Linked DNA regions of Homo sapiens: region 2 is linked to region 1. The links are contacts of gene promoters, found by promoter capture Hi-C in human tissues and cell types (Jung and others, 2019). All regions are on one chromosome and are shown on one strand. The core of a region is centred on a gene start or on the middle of the fragment in contact, and the rest is flanking DNA. Distances in the headings are between cores, read along the strand shown. Region 1 holds the start of MAP1S (microtubule associated protein 1S). Region 2 overlaps ABHD8 (abhydrolase domain containing 8).

What was found. The method cuts DNA at HindIII sites, captures the fragments that hold promoters and counts their contacts. A contact is called where the count stands out against the background at its distance.
Region 2: a contact is called between a fragment that was not itself captured here and the fragment with the promoter of MAP1S in region 1, in 1 of the 25 tissues and cell types used here (dorsolateral prefrontal cortex).

The regions. Positions count from the first base shown.
Region 1 is chr19:17,718,038-17,725,487 of GRCh38, forward strand. It overlaps MAP1S (microtubule associated protein 1S), which reads left to right and starts at 1,443. Exons shown (of 7, transcript NM_018174.6): 1 at 1,443-1,583; 2 at 2,899-3,000; 3 at 6,089-6,171; 4 at 7,012-7,152. The coding sequence starts at 1,466. RefSeq lists a silencer at 1,625-1,674 and enhancers at 2,025-2,094, 2,485-2,634. The HindIII fragment of the contact is 7,935 bases long and covers 1-1,825 here.
Region 2 is chr19:17,295,441-17,302,619 of GRCh38, forward strand. ABHD8 (abhydrolase domain containing 8) reads right to left here. Exons shown (of 5, transcript NM_024527.5): 2 at 5,416-6,184. The coding sequence starts at 6,176. It also overlaps a transcript of MRPL34 not described here. Among named protein-coding and RNA genes, the nearest start is that of ABHD8, 4.4 kb to the right of the region's middle. RefSeq lists enhancers at 5,521-6,021, 6,022-6,522 and a silencer at 6,880-7,174. The HindIII fragment of the contact is 7,858 bases long and covers 1,420-7,179 here.

The DNA of each region.
Region 1 (7,450 bases), core at 193-2,692:
GAGATCGAGACCACGGTGAAACCCCGTCTCTACTGAAAATACAAAAAATTAGCTGGGCACAGTGGCGGGCGCCTGTAGTCCCAGCTACTCGGGAGGCTGAGGCAGGAGAATGGCATGAACCTGGGAGGTGGAGCTTGCAGTGAGCCGAGATCGCGCCACTACCCTTCAGCCTGGGCGACAGAGCGAGACTCTGTCTCTAAAAGAAAAGAAAAGAAAAGAAAAGAAAAGAAAAGAAAAGAAAAGAAAAGAAAAGAAACCTCATCTCTACTAAAATACAAAAATTAGCAGGGCATGGTGGCGGACACCTATAATCCCGCTACTTGGGAGGCTGAGGCAAGGGAATCGCTTGAACCCGGGAGGCAGAGGTTGCAGTGAGCTGAGATTGTGCCATTGCACTCCAGCCTGGGCGGCAGAATGAGACTCCATCTCAAGAAAAGGAAAGGAGAGGAGAGGAGAGGGGAGAGGAGGGGAGGGGAGGGGAGGGAGAGGAAGGGAGGGGAGGGGAGGAGAGGAGAGGAGAGGGGAGAGAAGGGGAGGGGAGGGGAGAAGAGGAGAGGAGGGGAGGGGAGGAGAGGAGAAGAGAGGGGAGGAAAGGAAAGAAAAGCCTAAAGAGGATTATCTGGGGAGAGAGAGGTACCCATGTGCGCAACGCAGGCAGTCCCTTGCACAGGCTGGATCTAGAGTAAGACCCACTTGGGTTCAAACCTGCTCTACCACTTACAGGCCTGGTGACTTCATCCCTCCAAATCTCAGTTTCCTCTTCTTTCCTCTGAAAGTGACCACAGTAACTGTGCCTACTCATCTGTGCCTACATACAAGCACAAAACTCATCGCTTTGTGCTTGTATGTAATGAGCTAATGCAATAAAATACCTGGCGCACAGGAGGTGCAGAATAAGTGTTGCCCTGTTCCAGGCAGGCCCAGAGTGCTCCGGTTGTGTCCCAAACACACATGTACTTTCTTACCTCTAAAACTTTGCACCTGCTGTAAACTTCTGCCTCACCAGCTCTTGCCCCACCACCCACAAGGCAAACTCCTACACATCCCTTAAAGCCCTACCTACAAGATAGATTTCTTTTCTCTGTTCAAGCCCTGACCTAGAGAGCTGGGAGCATCCATAGGCACCGGGTTCTGATGCGGCCTACTGTCATGTGATGTGAGTTCCTGGAGGGCAGGAGTTCTGACCTACATGCAGCAGGCACGCAATCAAAGCTTGTTCAATGAAAAAAAAAATGAATGAATGGTCACTTGGGAGAGGCGGCTCCCAAGCGGACACCCAGGAGTCGGCCAACCCCTTTAACGCCCGCATCCCCTGCTCTCCACGACCTCAAAGGGCCTGTAAGTGGTCGACAAAAAGGGGCGGGGATGCGGTGGTTCCGGGCGGGGTCTTCAGCCCTTCCGGTGCGGCCCCTTTAAGAGGCGGGGCCTGCGGGGCGGGCGCCGAGAACGCCGGGGCGGCCCGAAGATGGCGGCGGTGGCTGGATCTGGGGCTGCCGCGGCTCCGAGCTCACTGCTCCTCGTGGTGGGCAGCGAGTTCGGGAGCCCGGGGCTCCTCACCTACGTCCTGGAGGAGCTCGAAAGAGGTCGGGCTGGCCTGGGGGCCCGCGGGAGCCCGGGAGGCGGGCCCGTTCGCGCGTCTGGGCCCGGGGCCGGCGGGGTGGGGCGGCGGCGGCGGCGGCGGCGGGACCCGGGCTCCGGGGCGGGGGTCGCGGGCCTGGGGCTGGGTCCCCTTCACCGTTAGGCGCACGACGCGGGCAAAGGCGGGGTGCCCGTGGGTGCCCGCGGAGAAAGTGGCATCCGGGCCTGGGCTGGGCAGGGCTGCCCCGCCCCAACTCCGGGTGAAGATAGGGGAGGGGACACGGGCCTGGGCTTGGGGACCCTTGCAGTTGGACCACGGCTCCGCTTCCCGCCTGACTGGCCTGCCCGGGGGTAGGGCCTGGGGTCGCTTTGGATCTCCAGGTCTTAGCAGCTTAGATAGAGATCTCCCGGAGGGAGAAGCAGATATGGGGGAGGCTGGGCCTGGAGCCCCGGGGCCCGCTTTCTGTTGCCTCACAAGGAGCTGCTAATTGGGGTGTGGGCGGGTGCGGCCTGCCCTGGGGATTTGGCACCTAGGGAGGTGAGTCATAGGCGCACCTGCCAGGTTCACCTGCAGCCACTTGGCTCAGTGGGACTGGCGGGCGTGATGCGCCCGTGGGTGGAGATGGGTGTTCATCCCCCATCCCTCGGAGCATCTGGACCTGGCGTTTCATTGCATGTAAAATGGGACAGGAACACGCACCTCGGTTCATGTGCTTGAGGAGTGTTTAGTGAGCACCTGCTATGCGCCAGGCCTTTGGGCAGTGGACACAGGGATATGGCCGGGATGATAGACAGGTTCAGCCCTGCCAACACAGGTCTGGTTTGGGGATGGACCCAAAGCGAGTGAGGAGATGGAACAAGCTTCCAGCTCACATGGTGTCAGGAAGGATGAGAAGGCTGCAAGGGACTGAGAGGACAGTCAGTCTTAGCACCCGAAGGTGCTGAGGGGGAAGGGCCCCCTGGCCAGTAGGAACAGGTGGGGGCGGCAGGGGGATGGACTTCCAGGCAGGGGAAACAGCTGTTGCAAGGGCGGTGAGTGGAAACGGGTCTGGCAGGGCATAGGAGCAGCGAGGAGGTGGAGATGGAGGAGGTGGAGGCTTTGTTGCTGATGAATCTTGTGTGTAAAATGATGAGGTGTGCTCTGGGTCCCCTGGCTCAGCTGCAGCGAGACCTGAAGGTGTTGGGTACTTCTGAGTCTCCAAGCTGTGAGTGAAGGGAGGAGGCTGGGGCGCTCCCCACCCACGGGGTGCTAATTATTGAAATATTCTGGGAGCTGGGGGGCCCGGCTGAACTCCCGCCTTGATCCCTCCTTCCCACCAGGCATCCGGTCTTGGGATGTCGATCCTGGCGTCTGCAACCTTGATGAACAGCTCAAGGTCTTTGTGTCCCGACACTCTGCCACCTTCTCCAGCATTGTGAAAGGTGAGGCTGGGGTCCCCCTGACTGCTCCCTACCTCTTGTTATTTGGGGAAGTGCCAGCCGTGTGCCAGGCATGGGGGGTGGGATGCAGCTATAAATAACAACAGTAATAATACAGTTGAGACCTTTCAAATGCAAGCCGTGACCCAGTGATAACCCCCTCAGTCCTCAGCAACCCACAGTGCAGGAACTGGTGTTTTTGTCCCTGATTGACAGATGAGGAAATTGGCATTGAAGGGGGAAGAGGCAGGGAGATCTCTGAGGAGGGGGTTTTTTGATGAGAAACTGCTATGACTGGTGTGTCCAGTGGAAGGGAAGGGCCCCAGTCAAGACCCAGCAGTGGACAGAACATCTAGAATGAACCGGGCGCGGTGGCTTACGCCTCTGATCTCAGCACTTTGGGAGGCCGCAGCGGGCGGATCACTTGAGGTCAGGAGTTGGAGACTAGCCTGGCCAACGTGGAGGAACCCTGTCTCTACTAAGAATACAAAAATAACGGCATGGTGGCAGGCGCCTCTAATCCCAGCTACTCGGGAGGCTGAGGTGGGAGGATCACATGAACCCAGGAGGCAGAGGTTACAGTGGGGCTGAGACTGCGCCACTGCACTCCTGCCTGAGTGACAGAGTGGGAGGGACTCTGTCTCAGAACAAACAAACAAACAAAAAACATCTGGAAGGTGGAGGGGCACTGAGCAGGCCCTGGAAGATGGAGTGTGGGCCCCTTGCAGGAAGGGACTGATACTGGTTCACAGCCACAGGCCTGGGTATACAGTAGGCAGGGAACTGAAAAGGAGTGAGATCAAGAAGGGCCCAACTCAGCACGAGGCTCCCTTCTAGGGTGACCCAGGGTGAGCAGAGCAGCAGGCGGGCAGGCAGGGCTTGGGTGTTGCCTGCAGCCGCCCCCGGCTCCTGATGGTCTCTTGAGTCACCTCCCGGCTGCTGCTGGAGAGGAAGGAAGTGTCTGTAGTCTCATTGTCCCAGTTGGTCCTTGTGGCTTCCTGACACTTCATGGGGCAGAAAGTGGAGCTGGAAATCCTGTCTGCTGTGTGTGAACTTCGTGGCCACTTCCCTTCTTTATGCCTTGATTTCCCCACCTGAATGGGGCAATATCCCTGTGTGGCAAAAAGCGTGCTAAGGCTGGGTGGGGTGGCTCTCGCCTGTAATCCCAACACTTTGGGAGGTCAAAGTGGGAGGATTTTTTGAGGTCAGGAGTTCAAAACCAGCTGGGGCAACATGGTGAAACCCTGTCCCTACTGAAAATGCAAAAATGAGCTGGACCTGGTGGTGCACACCTGTAGTCCCAGCTACTCAGGAGCCCGAGGAGGGAGGATCGCTTTTACCCAGGAGGCAGAGGCTGCAGTGAGCTAAGATTGTGCCACTGCACTTCAGCCTGGGCAACAGAGCGAGACCCTGTCTCAAAAAAATAAACTTAGGCCTGACATGGTGGCTCACACCTATAATCCCAGCACTTTGGAAGGCTGAGGTGGGTGGATCACCTGAGGTCAGGAGTTCGAGACCAGCCTGACCAGTATGGTGACACCCCATCTCTACTAAAAATACAAAAATTAGCTGGTTGTGGTGGCAAGCGCCTATAACCCCAGCTACTTGGGAGACTGAGGTTGGAGAATTGCTTGAACTCAGGAGGCAGAGGTTGCAGTGAGCTGAGATCGTGCCACTACACTTCAGCCTGGGCAATAGAGGGAGATTCCATCTCAAAAAAGAGAGAGAGAGAGAGGGAGGGAGGGAGGGAGGGGGAGAGGGAGGGAGAGAGAGAGAGAAAGGAAAGAGAAAGCTAAATGTGATAAGGGCGAGAGAGAGAGAAAGGGAAAAGAAGGAAAGAAAGGAAAGAAAGTTAAATGTGATAAGGGCTGGCAACACTGGAGGGTCTCTGCCTCTCAAGACTCAGCCTTGTTCACAGTTCAGTCCTGCCTCAGGGGCCTTGGCTGGTGCTGTACCCTGGTCCGGGTTGGCCCTCACCGGCCCCCACCCCGGCTCTGGCTCCTTGCCACCCCCCTCTCACAGTACTGATGTTTAAAACACATACGGGCCCTGGGGGACAGAGCAGGGTCAGGATCCCAGAAACAGCCCTACTTCAGCCCCGGCCCTTATGCTGCCCCACCCCTAGCTGAGTCCTGCCTCAGGACCTTTGCTCCGGATGTACCCTCGTCCACGTTCGCCCTCATTGGCCCTCCTCGAGCTCTGGCTCTCTGTCTGAAAAATAAATGTGGCCGGATGGGTGCAGTGGGTCAAGTCTGTAATCCCAGCACTTTGGGAGGCCGAGGCAGGCGGATCACCTGAGGTCAGGAGTTTGAGACCAGCCTGACCCACATGTTAAAACCCCGTCTCTACTAAAAATTGAAAAAATTAATGGGGCGTGGTGGCGTGTGCCTGTAATCCCAGCTACTCGGGAGGCTGAGGCAGGAGAATTGCTTGAACCCAGGAGGCGGAGGTTGCAGTGAGCCCAGGTTGCACTGTTGCACGCCAGCCTGGGCAACAAGAGCAAAACTCCGTCTCAAAAAAAAAGAAAAGAAAAAGGCCGGGCGCGGTGGCTCACGCCTGTAATCCCAGCACTTTGGGAGGCCGAGGCAGGCGGATCACGAGGTCAGGATATGGAGACTATCCTGGCTTACACGGTGAAACCCTGTCTCTACTAAAAATACAAAAACTTAGCCGGGTGTGGTGGCGGGCACCTGTAGTCCTGGCTACTCGGGAGGCTGAGGCAGGAGAATGGCGTGAACCCGGGAGGAGGAGCGGAGCTTGCAGTGAGCAGAGATTGCACCACTGCCCTCCAGCCTGGGCGACAGAGCGAGACTCCGTCTCACAAAAAAAAGAAGAAAATGGTGGCATCACTCCCAGGGGTGACAGCTGCAAACCAGGCCCTGCGCACGATGGGGCCCTCTGGTTACTGCCTCTCTTAGGCCAGCTGGGGTGGTTTGAGTTTCTCTTTCTTGCCTGGTCCTGACCTGCAGCTCTGCCGTGCGCCTGTTAATCTCCATATGATCCCTGGGTGGGTTCCCAGAGGGGTTCATGTTCCCTGAGGGTCACACGGGGAGGCAGGATTTGACTCCGGGACGGCCTGATTCCCCCACAGGCCAGCGGAGCCTGCACCACCGTGGAGACAACCTGGAGACCCTGGTCCTCCTGAACCCATCAGACAAGTCCCTGTATGATGAGGTAGGGAATGGCTGACGTCCTGGAGGGGGCGGGCTGCTGGGACCCGTGCCTTCTCTGTCTTCCTGTCTCGTGTCCTTGTCTTCATGCTGCCCCAGATCCTCTCAAGACACCCGGCACCACACTTCTTCGCCCACGAAGCCTTCCCTGTGGCTTCAGCCTCCGCTTCTTCCCTCCTCTGGGGTGGGAGCAGAAAAGCCTGGACTTTGGGAGGGAGGGGAGGGTAAGCACTCCCAGCTCAGGGCCCAGGACAGCGTGGGTCTGGAGGTGGGAAGGCCAGAGCAGACAGGTTTTCCTCCTGTGGGTTCCCTCCGGCTAGGCCCCAGGAGTTGTCTGAATCGACTCACTAACATTAACCAGCTTGTGGCCATCTGTACTCTACCAATTATACATCCGGAAGATGAACCAGACAGAGCCCTGGGGCATCCCACTACAGACCTTCTTACAGGTTGATTCCTTGGATCAACTTTTCCCTTTTGTTCCCTTGAGGGGCTCTCAGTCTTTAAGAGACAGAGTGAGACACAGACACCCCCAGCCCTGTGGCATCAGGGCTGGGCTGGAGGGAGAGGTGGACTAGAGAGAGCCCAGAAAGGGCAAGTAGTGCCTTCAGGAGGAAGGGACATCAGAGCTGGGCTTTGTAGGATGAATAGGAGTTTGCTAGGGTTGCTCCAGGGCCCAGCAGGAGACCTGGAGACTGCCTTCGTAGCTAGTTGAGCACTGGGCTGGTCGTGGGGTGAGGACAGGAGAGGGGTGGTTATGTATCGACTCGAGGCTACCCCAAAGAGGACTGCTGGATACGTCACTGCACAGAACGGGTCCTTTAGTGTTCACCCCCTCCCTCAGCTCCGGAACCTTCTGTTGGACCCTGCCTCTCACAAGCTACTGGTGTTGGCTGGGCCCTGCCTGGAGGAGACGGGGGAGCTGCTGCTACAGACAGGGGGCTTCTCGCCTCACCACTTCCTCCAGGTCCTGAAGGACAGAGAGGTAAGCCACCCCTTTGCCATCCCCTGCTTCCCCAGCTCTGAATCCTGACTGGGGTGTATCAGGCTGTGTGGCACCAGCGACCTGCTGTTTTCCATGGCCTGGTCTCCCCATCCTCTGTAGGATGGCAGTGGTGACACATGCCTCCTGGCTGTCTGGGGTCAGTCCCATTGCCCGCGAAAGGGTGTGGTGTGAGCTGAGTTTGTAGGTCAGCAGATGTCCCAAAGTCCTGATGAGGGATGGAGCCAAATGGGTCCTTCCTGGTGCCCGCAGTCTGGGTAGGACACATGGGCAAAATGGC
Region 2 (7,179 bases), core at 4,099-6,598, 420 kb before region 1:
CTGTTGCCCAGGTTGGAGTACAGTGATGCAATCTCAGCTCACTGCAACCTCTGCCTCCTGGGTTCAACTGATTCTCCTTCCTCAGCCTCCCGAGTAGCTGGGAGTACAGGCATGCACCACCACACCTGGCTAATTTTTGTATTTTTTAGTAGACACAGGGTTTCAGCATGTTGCTCAGGCTGGTCGAGAACTCCTGACCTCAAGTGATCCACCCACCTTGGCTTCCCAAAGTGCGGGGATTACAGGCATGAGCCACTGGGCTGGCCTGTTTTGTTTTTGTTTTTGAGACAAGGTTTCGCTGTCGCCTAGGCTGGAGTGGTGCGGTGGCGTAATCATAGCTCCCTGCAGCCTTGACTTCCTGGGCTCAAGAGATCCTCCCACCTCAGCCTTCTGAATAGCTGGGACTACAGGCATGTGCCACCATGCTCAGCTAATTTTTAAAAATTTTTTTATAAAGACAGGGTCTCCTTATGTTGCCCAGGCTGGTCTTGAACTCCTGGGCTCAAGTGATCCTCTGGCCTTAACCTCCCAAAGTGCTGGGATTATAGGCGTGAGCCGTGACACCCGGCCTGGTGAGGGGGTTCATGTCCTCCCCCTACCCAGAAGGCAGGTCCTTGGAAGCCAAGATTCTTCCCCTGGGGTCCATGGACACCTGAAGGGGTGAGGGATGAGTGCGGCCTCTCAAATACCGTGAAAGTGTGAGTTTGAGTGTTGAGGATGGAACTTATTTTGAAGAGAGAATCTGGATCCAGAAGTTTCACCAGACTTTTTATTTTAATTGTTTAAAATTTTTGTAGAGATGGGGGTCTCACTATGTTGCCCAGGCTGGTCTTGAACTTCTGGGCTCAAGTGATCCTTCCACCTTGGCCTTCCAAAGTGTTAAGATTATAGATATGAGCCACTGTGCCCGGCCCTCATCAGATTCTTCAAGCCACCATGACCCAAAAGCGGTAAGAATTACTCATCAGCAAGTGGTAGGAAAGCAATCTGATTAAACAAATGCTTCCGGCTGCCCAGGGGAGGTCACTGTTTCCTACTATCCCTTCCCTTTCAGGATGTTCTGCCACCTGCCTCTGGGCATGACATATCTGTCTTCCTTATACAAGATGGAAGGCCTGAGAAGCCCCCAAAGCTGAGCTCCTCATTCCTACAAAAGCAGGGGTCAACAAACTATGTACGGCCTGTGGGCTAGTCATTTGCTTTTTTAAATACAGTTTACACTTTTGGAGATTTGAAAAATGTTTCCTAAATAAGGTTTTTTTTTTTTTTTTTGAGATGGAGTCCTGCTCTGTTGCCCACGCTGGAGCACAGTGGCGCGATCTCGGCTCACTGCAACCTCCGCCTCCCGGGTTCAAGTGATTCTCCTGTCTCAGCCTCCCGAGTAGCTGGGATTACAGGCATCTGCCATTATGCCCGGCTAATTTTTGTATTTTTAGTAGAGACGGGGTTTCACCGTGTTAGTCAGGCTGGTCTTGAACTCCCGACCTCAGGTGATCTGCCCACCTTGGCCTCCCAAAGTGCTGGGATTAGAGGCGTGAGCCACCGTGCCTGGCCAAAAAATGTTTCCTAAATAAAGTTTTATCAGAAGTTCCAACAGTGACTGTATGGCCTGCAAACCTAAAATATTCGCTATCCGATCCTTTAAGGAAATGTTTGCCAGCCCCTGCTGTAATGAGGAAAGGATACAGACAGGAGTCAGGCAGACCTGATTGTGTCAGGGACTTCCTGTATGCCTTTGGGCAGGTTGCTTCACCTCTCTGAGCTTCAGCCTCCACATTCCTGAAGTTGTAAATGTGCTGACCTAATAGCACTGTTATGGGGTCATGGGAACTATTGTAGGTGGGTGTTTTTTTTGTTTTTTTGTTTTTTTCTCGAGACAGAGTCTTGCTCTGTCACTCAGGCTGGAGTGCAATGGTGCGATCTCGGCTCACTGCAACCCCCACCTCATGGGTTCGAATGATTATCCTGCCTCAGCCTCCCAAGTAGCTGGGATTATAGGCACCTGCAACCATACCCAGCTACTTTTTGTATTTTTATTAGAGACGGGGTTTCACCATTTTGGCCAGGCTGGTCTTGAACTCCTGACCTTGTGATCCGCCTGCCTCGGCCTCCAAAAGTTCTGGGATTACAGGTGTGAACCACTGTGCCCAGCAGGTGGGTGCTCATTTAATTAGAGGAATCATTTCTCATAAGCATCAACTTTTGAGTATGTTATATAAAGAAATATAAACAAATAAGAGCTGTTACCTCTCAGTCTAGATTCCTTTCTTTTAGATACTTATGTAACTTCTTTGTTTTCTTTTCTTTTTTTTTTTTTTTTACTTTTTAGTTTTTTGTAGAGATGAGATCTTGCTTATGTTGCCCAGGTTGGTCTTGAACTCCTCAGCTATAGCAGTCCTCCCACCTCAGCTTCCCAAAGTGTTGGGATTATAGGTGTAAGCCACCACACCTGGCCACTTATTTATTTTTCTTTTTTCTTTTTTTTTTTTTTTGAGATGGAGTCTCACTCTGTCACCCAGGCTGGAGTGCAGTGGCACAATCTCGGCTCACTGCAAGCTCCACCTCCTGGGTGCACGCCATTCTCCTGCCTCAGCCTCCTGAGTAGCTGGGACTACAGGCGCCTGCCACCATGCCTGGCTAATTTTTTTTTGTATTTTTTAGTAGAGACGGGGTTTCACCGTGTTAGCCAGGATGGTCTTGATCTCCTGACCTCCTGATCCGCCCGCCTCGGCCTCCCAAATTGCTGGGATTACAGGTGTGAGCCACCACGCCTGGCCTTTTTTTCTTGTCTAATTGCATAGGCTAGAATCTCTAAAACAGTGGTGCTCAACTTGCCTGGCTGTTCAATCTTGCCTTTCTTCCTGGATAAAGGAGAGAATGAGGCCACTTGGTAGTGGTCAAGCCCTGGGGACCAAGCCTTCCATGGAGGGGTTCTTGGTAAGTTTTAGGTTGTATTACCTGCCCTTTAAGCAGGAGTGAATTACAGTAACCCATGCCTTTGTAAATGCCTAGAATTTACAGGATTCCGATGAGCGCTTCCTGAATGCACAGTGTTCTCCAGGGCAGTTGATTTTTTAACTTAGTCTAAGGCAGTGGTTCTCAGCTGGGGGTAATTCTGCCCACCAGGGCACGCTTGGCAACTACTGAAGACATTTTTGACTGTCATGATCAACACTAGATTGTGTAGTTGCATCCAGTGGGCAGAAGCCAGGGATGCTACTAAACATCCTATAGCCCCTCACAGAAAAAAAATAACCTGGCCAAACACGATAGTGCTGGGATTGAACAACACTGCTTTTTTTTTTTTTTTTTTTTTTTTGGGCAGAGTCTCACTCTGTTGCTCAGGCTGGAGTGCAGTGGTGTGATCTTGGCTCACTGCAACCTCTGCCTCCCAGGTTCAAGTGATTCTCCTGCCTCACACCCCCGAGTAGCTGGGATTACAGGCACACACCATCATGCCTGGTTAATTTTTTGTACTTTTAGTAGAGATGGGGTTTCACCATGTTGGCCAAACTGGTGTTGAACTCCTGACCTCAAGTGATCTGCCTGCTTTGGCTTCCTAAAGTGCTAGGATTACAGGCGTAAGCCACTGCACCTGGCCTGAGCAACACTGCTTTAGAACAATGTGAAACAATATCAGTGATGACGGAAATCCCTGTCTGATTACATATGCTAATGGGAGTTTTCAGCCTGGTATAGCGGCTCATGCCTGTTACCCCACCACATCGGGAGGCCAAGGAGGGAGGATGGCTTGAGCCCAGGAGTTCAAGACCAGCCTGGGCAACATAATGAGACCCCCCCCCCATTCTCTATATAATTTTTTTTTGAACTTGAAAATTGGCCTGGTGCGTTGGCTCACGCCTGTAATCCCAGCGCTTTGGGAGGCCGAGGAGGGCGAATCACGAGGTCAGGAGATCGAGACCATCCTGGCTAACACGGTGAAACCCCGTCTGTACTAAAAAGACAAAAAATTAGCCAGGCATGGTAGCGGGTGCCTGTAGTCCCAGCTACTAGGGAGGCTGAGGCAGGAGAATGGCATGAACCTGGGAGGTGGAGCTTGCAGTGAGCCAGGATCACGCCACTGCACTCCAGCCTGGGGGACAGAGTGAGACTCCATCTCAAAAAAAAAAAAAAAAAAAAAAATTAAGGCTGAGCACAATGACTCACACCTGTAGTCCTAGCACTTTGGGAGGCTGAGGTGCAAGGATCACTTGAGCCCAGTAGTTAAAGAACATCTTGGGCAACATAGTGAGATGCCATCTCTATTTAAAAGAAAAAAAAATTTTAAAAATGTAAAAATTAAATTGAAAAATGGGATTTTTTTCAAGGAGAAAAATTAGGATTTTTGTTTGCTTTGTTTTGTTTTAGGAGATAAGGTTTTGCCATGTTGTCCAAACTCATCTCCAATGATCCATCCACAAAGTGCTGGGATTACAAATGTGCACCACCGCGCGTGGTGGCCCCTTTTTTTTTTTTCATGACGGAGTCTCCTTCTGTCGCCCAGGCTGGAGTGCAGTGGCACAATATGATCTTGGCTCACTGCAAGCTCCGTCTCCCGTGCTCATGCCATTCTCCTGCCTCAGCCTCCCGAGTAGCTGGGACTATAGGTGCCCACCACCACACCCAGCTAATTTTTTGTATTTTTAGTAGAGACAGGGTTTCACCGTGTTAGCCAGGATGGTCTCAATCTTCTGACCTCGTGATCCGCCCGCCTCAGCCTCCCAAAGTGCTGGGATTACAGGCGTGAGCCACCGCGCCCGGATTTTTTTTTCTTTTTTAAAGAGCGACAGGTTCTTGCCATGCTGCCCAGGCTGGAGTGCAGTGGTGTGATCACAGTTCACTGCAGCCTCGACCTCCCAGACTCAAGCAATCTCCTGCCTCAGCCCTTAAGTAGGTGGAACTATATGCGTGCACCTCCTCACCTAGCTAATGTTTGTACTTTTTGTAGAGCTAGGGGGTTCTCCCTATGTTGCCCAGGCTGGTCTCAAACTCCTTGCCTCAAGATATCCTCCCGCCTTGGCCCCCGAAAGCACTGGGATTACAGGTGTCAGTGGCATCTCAGAGTCTCCCTCTGTCGCCCAGGCTGGAGTGCAGTGACACAATCTCGGCTCACTGCAACCTCCACCTCCTCGGTTCAAGTGATTCCTCTGCCTCAGCCTCCCGAGTAGCTGGGACTACAGGCGCGTGCCACCACGTCTGGCTAATTTTTGTATTTTTGGTAGAGACGGGGTTTCACCACCTTGGCCAGACTGTTCCCGAACTCCCAACCTCAGGTGATCCGCCTGCCTCGGCCTCCCAAAGTGCTGGGATTACAGGCGTGAGCCACGGGGCTCAGCCAAAAACTCAGTATTTTGTGACTGTAGTCCCTGCTGACCCCATCCCTCACCCCCACCCCACATGCCAGGGTTCACTTACCCGTAGGAATGGCCAATGAGCACATTTCGCTTCTTGGCATAGCGCTTGAAGATTGCTCGCATGTCCTCAGCCAGCGCATAGAAGGTGTAGGCTGCGGCCACCTGGGGCGCAGAGCTGGCCCCGTGGCCGGCCAGGTCAGGAGCCACCACCTCATAGCCTAGGCGCACAAAGAAGTCCAGCTGCTCCTTCCAGATGGCCAGGGAACCGCCGACACCATGGATGAAAAAGAGCACCACGTCGGCCTGGGCGCCTTTGCAGCTAGTGATGCGCTTCTCACAGTCAATATGGATGGTCCTCTTGGGGCGCCTGGCTCGCCGCCGCCGCCCACCACTGCCACTGCCGCTGCCGCTGCCTGCGCTGCCGGGGGCCAAGCGGCCATCGCTGCCCGCCGGATCTGCCAGCTCCACCTCCAGGGCGGCCGGCGGCTCCCCAGAGCCATTCTGCCCGTGTAGGAGGTCGGCTCGAGGGGCTCGGCCCAGGTTTTCCACCAGCAACCGCCCATTGCGGTACACGGTGATCCGGCGCTGACAGCGGACCAAGCCGGAGAGGTCCCCCTGGGCTGCATCCGAGGATGCGGATGATGGTGGAGGTGGGGCAGCGGCTGGGGCGGGTCCTGCATGCTTCACCCGCAGCACGCGGCCGGGCTTGACCTCTACAAAGGTGTAGCCATCGCTGGACTCGACGCTCTCCAGTGGCCCCACGGCGTTGGGGGGCGTGCCCAGCAGGCAACAGAAGATACCGTCGGTCACCCCGGTCAGCATGGTGTGTCCTGTGAGTGAGGACAGCAGCCAGTTCAGGTGCTGTCTCAATGAGAACCCTGCACCGTGCAGCAGGCACTCCCTGAGCCTTGGGAGAACTGTTTTAGACTCCAGTTTGGGGAGCGCCAGATCAAGTGAGCCACGGCACTGAGATTTTTTTGTTTGTGTGTGTGTGTGTGTGTGTGTGTGTGTGTGTTTTTGAGACAGTCTCGCTTTGTCATCCAGGCTGGAGGGCAGTGGCCGGATTTCGGCTTACTGCAACCTCCCCCTCCTGGGTTCAAGCGATTCTCTTGCCTCAGCCTCCTGAGTAGCTGGGATTATAGGCAGGTGCCACCATGTCTAGCTAATTTTTGTATTTTTTGTAGAGATGGGGTTTCACCATGTTGGCCAGGCTGGTCTTGAACTCCTGACCTCAAATTTTCCTCCTGCTTCGGCCTCCCAAAGTGCTGGGATTATAGGTGTGAGCCACCGTGCACTGACATGTTTTGTCTGAGCAGTGCCTTTGTGGTAGTTACCCTCCTGGGTCACCCTAGTCTATCCTCAGAGAGAAAGACTTGGCTATGGCTTACCCCACAGGGTGTCCACAGGGAAGGTGGTGGCGTCTTGTGTGGGGATGTTCCTGGAGAAGGGGACATTGTGGCAAATGTGGACCAGCCGGAAGACACCCCCTCCCCCCAGCTGGAGTTTATACCATTTATGGCCTCCTAACTCATTCATTCAGGTATACACTAACTCATCCATTCAGGTATACACTAACTCATTCATTCAGGTATACACTAACTCACTAACTCATCCAGGTATGCACTCACTAACTCACATATCCCCAGGGCCTCCTAAGGCATCTAAAATATGCAAATCTTTGGTGAGCCCCCAGTGAGGCTCCTGGCTCTGAATTTGACTCCTGAAAGGTGAGGCCCTAGGAGAGGGGGATGGGGACTGAGCCACAGAAAGCCTTGCTCAGCTCCCCTAGACCGGGGTGAGCCGGGGTCTGTTTCATAGAGGGCCA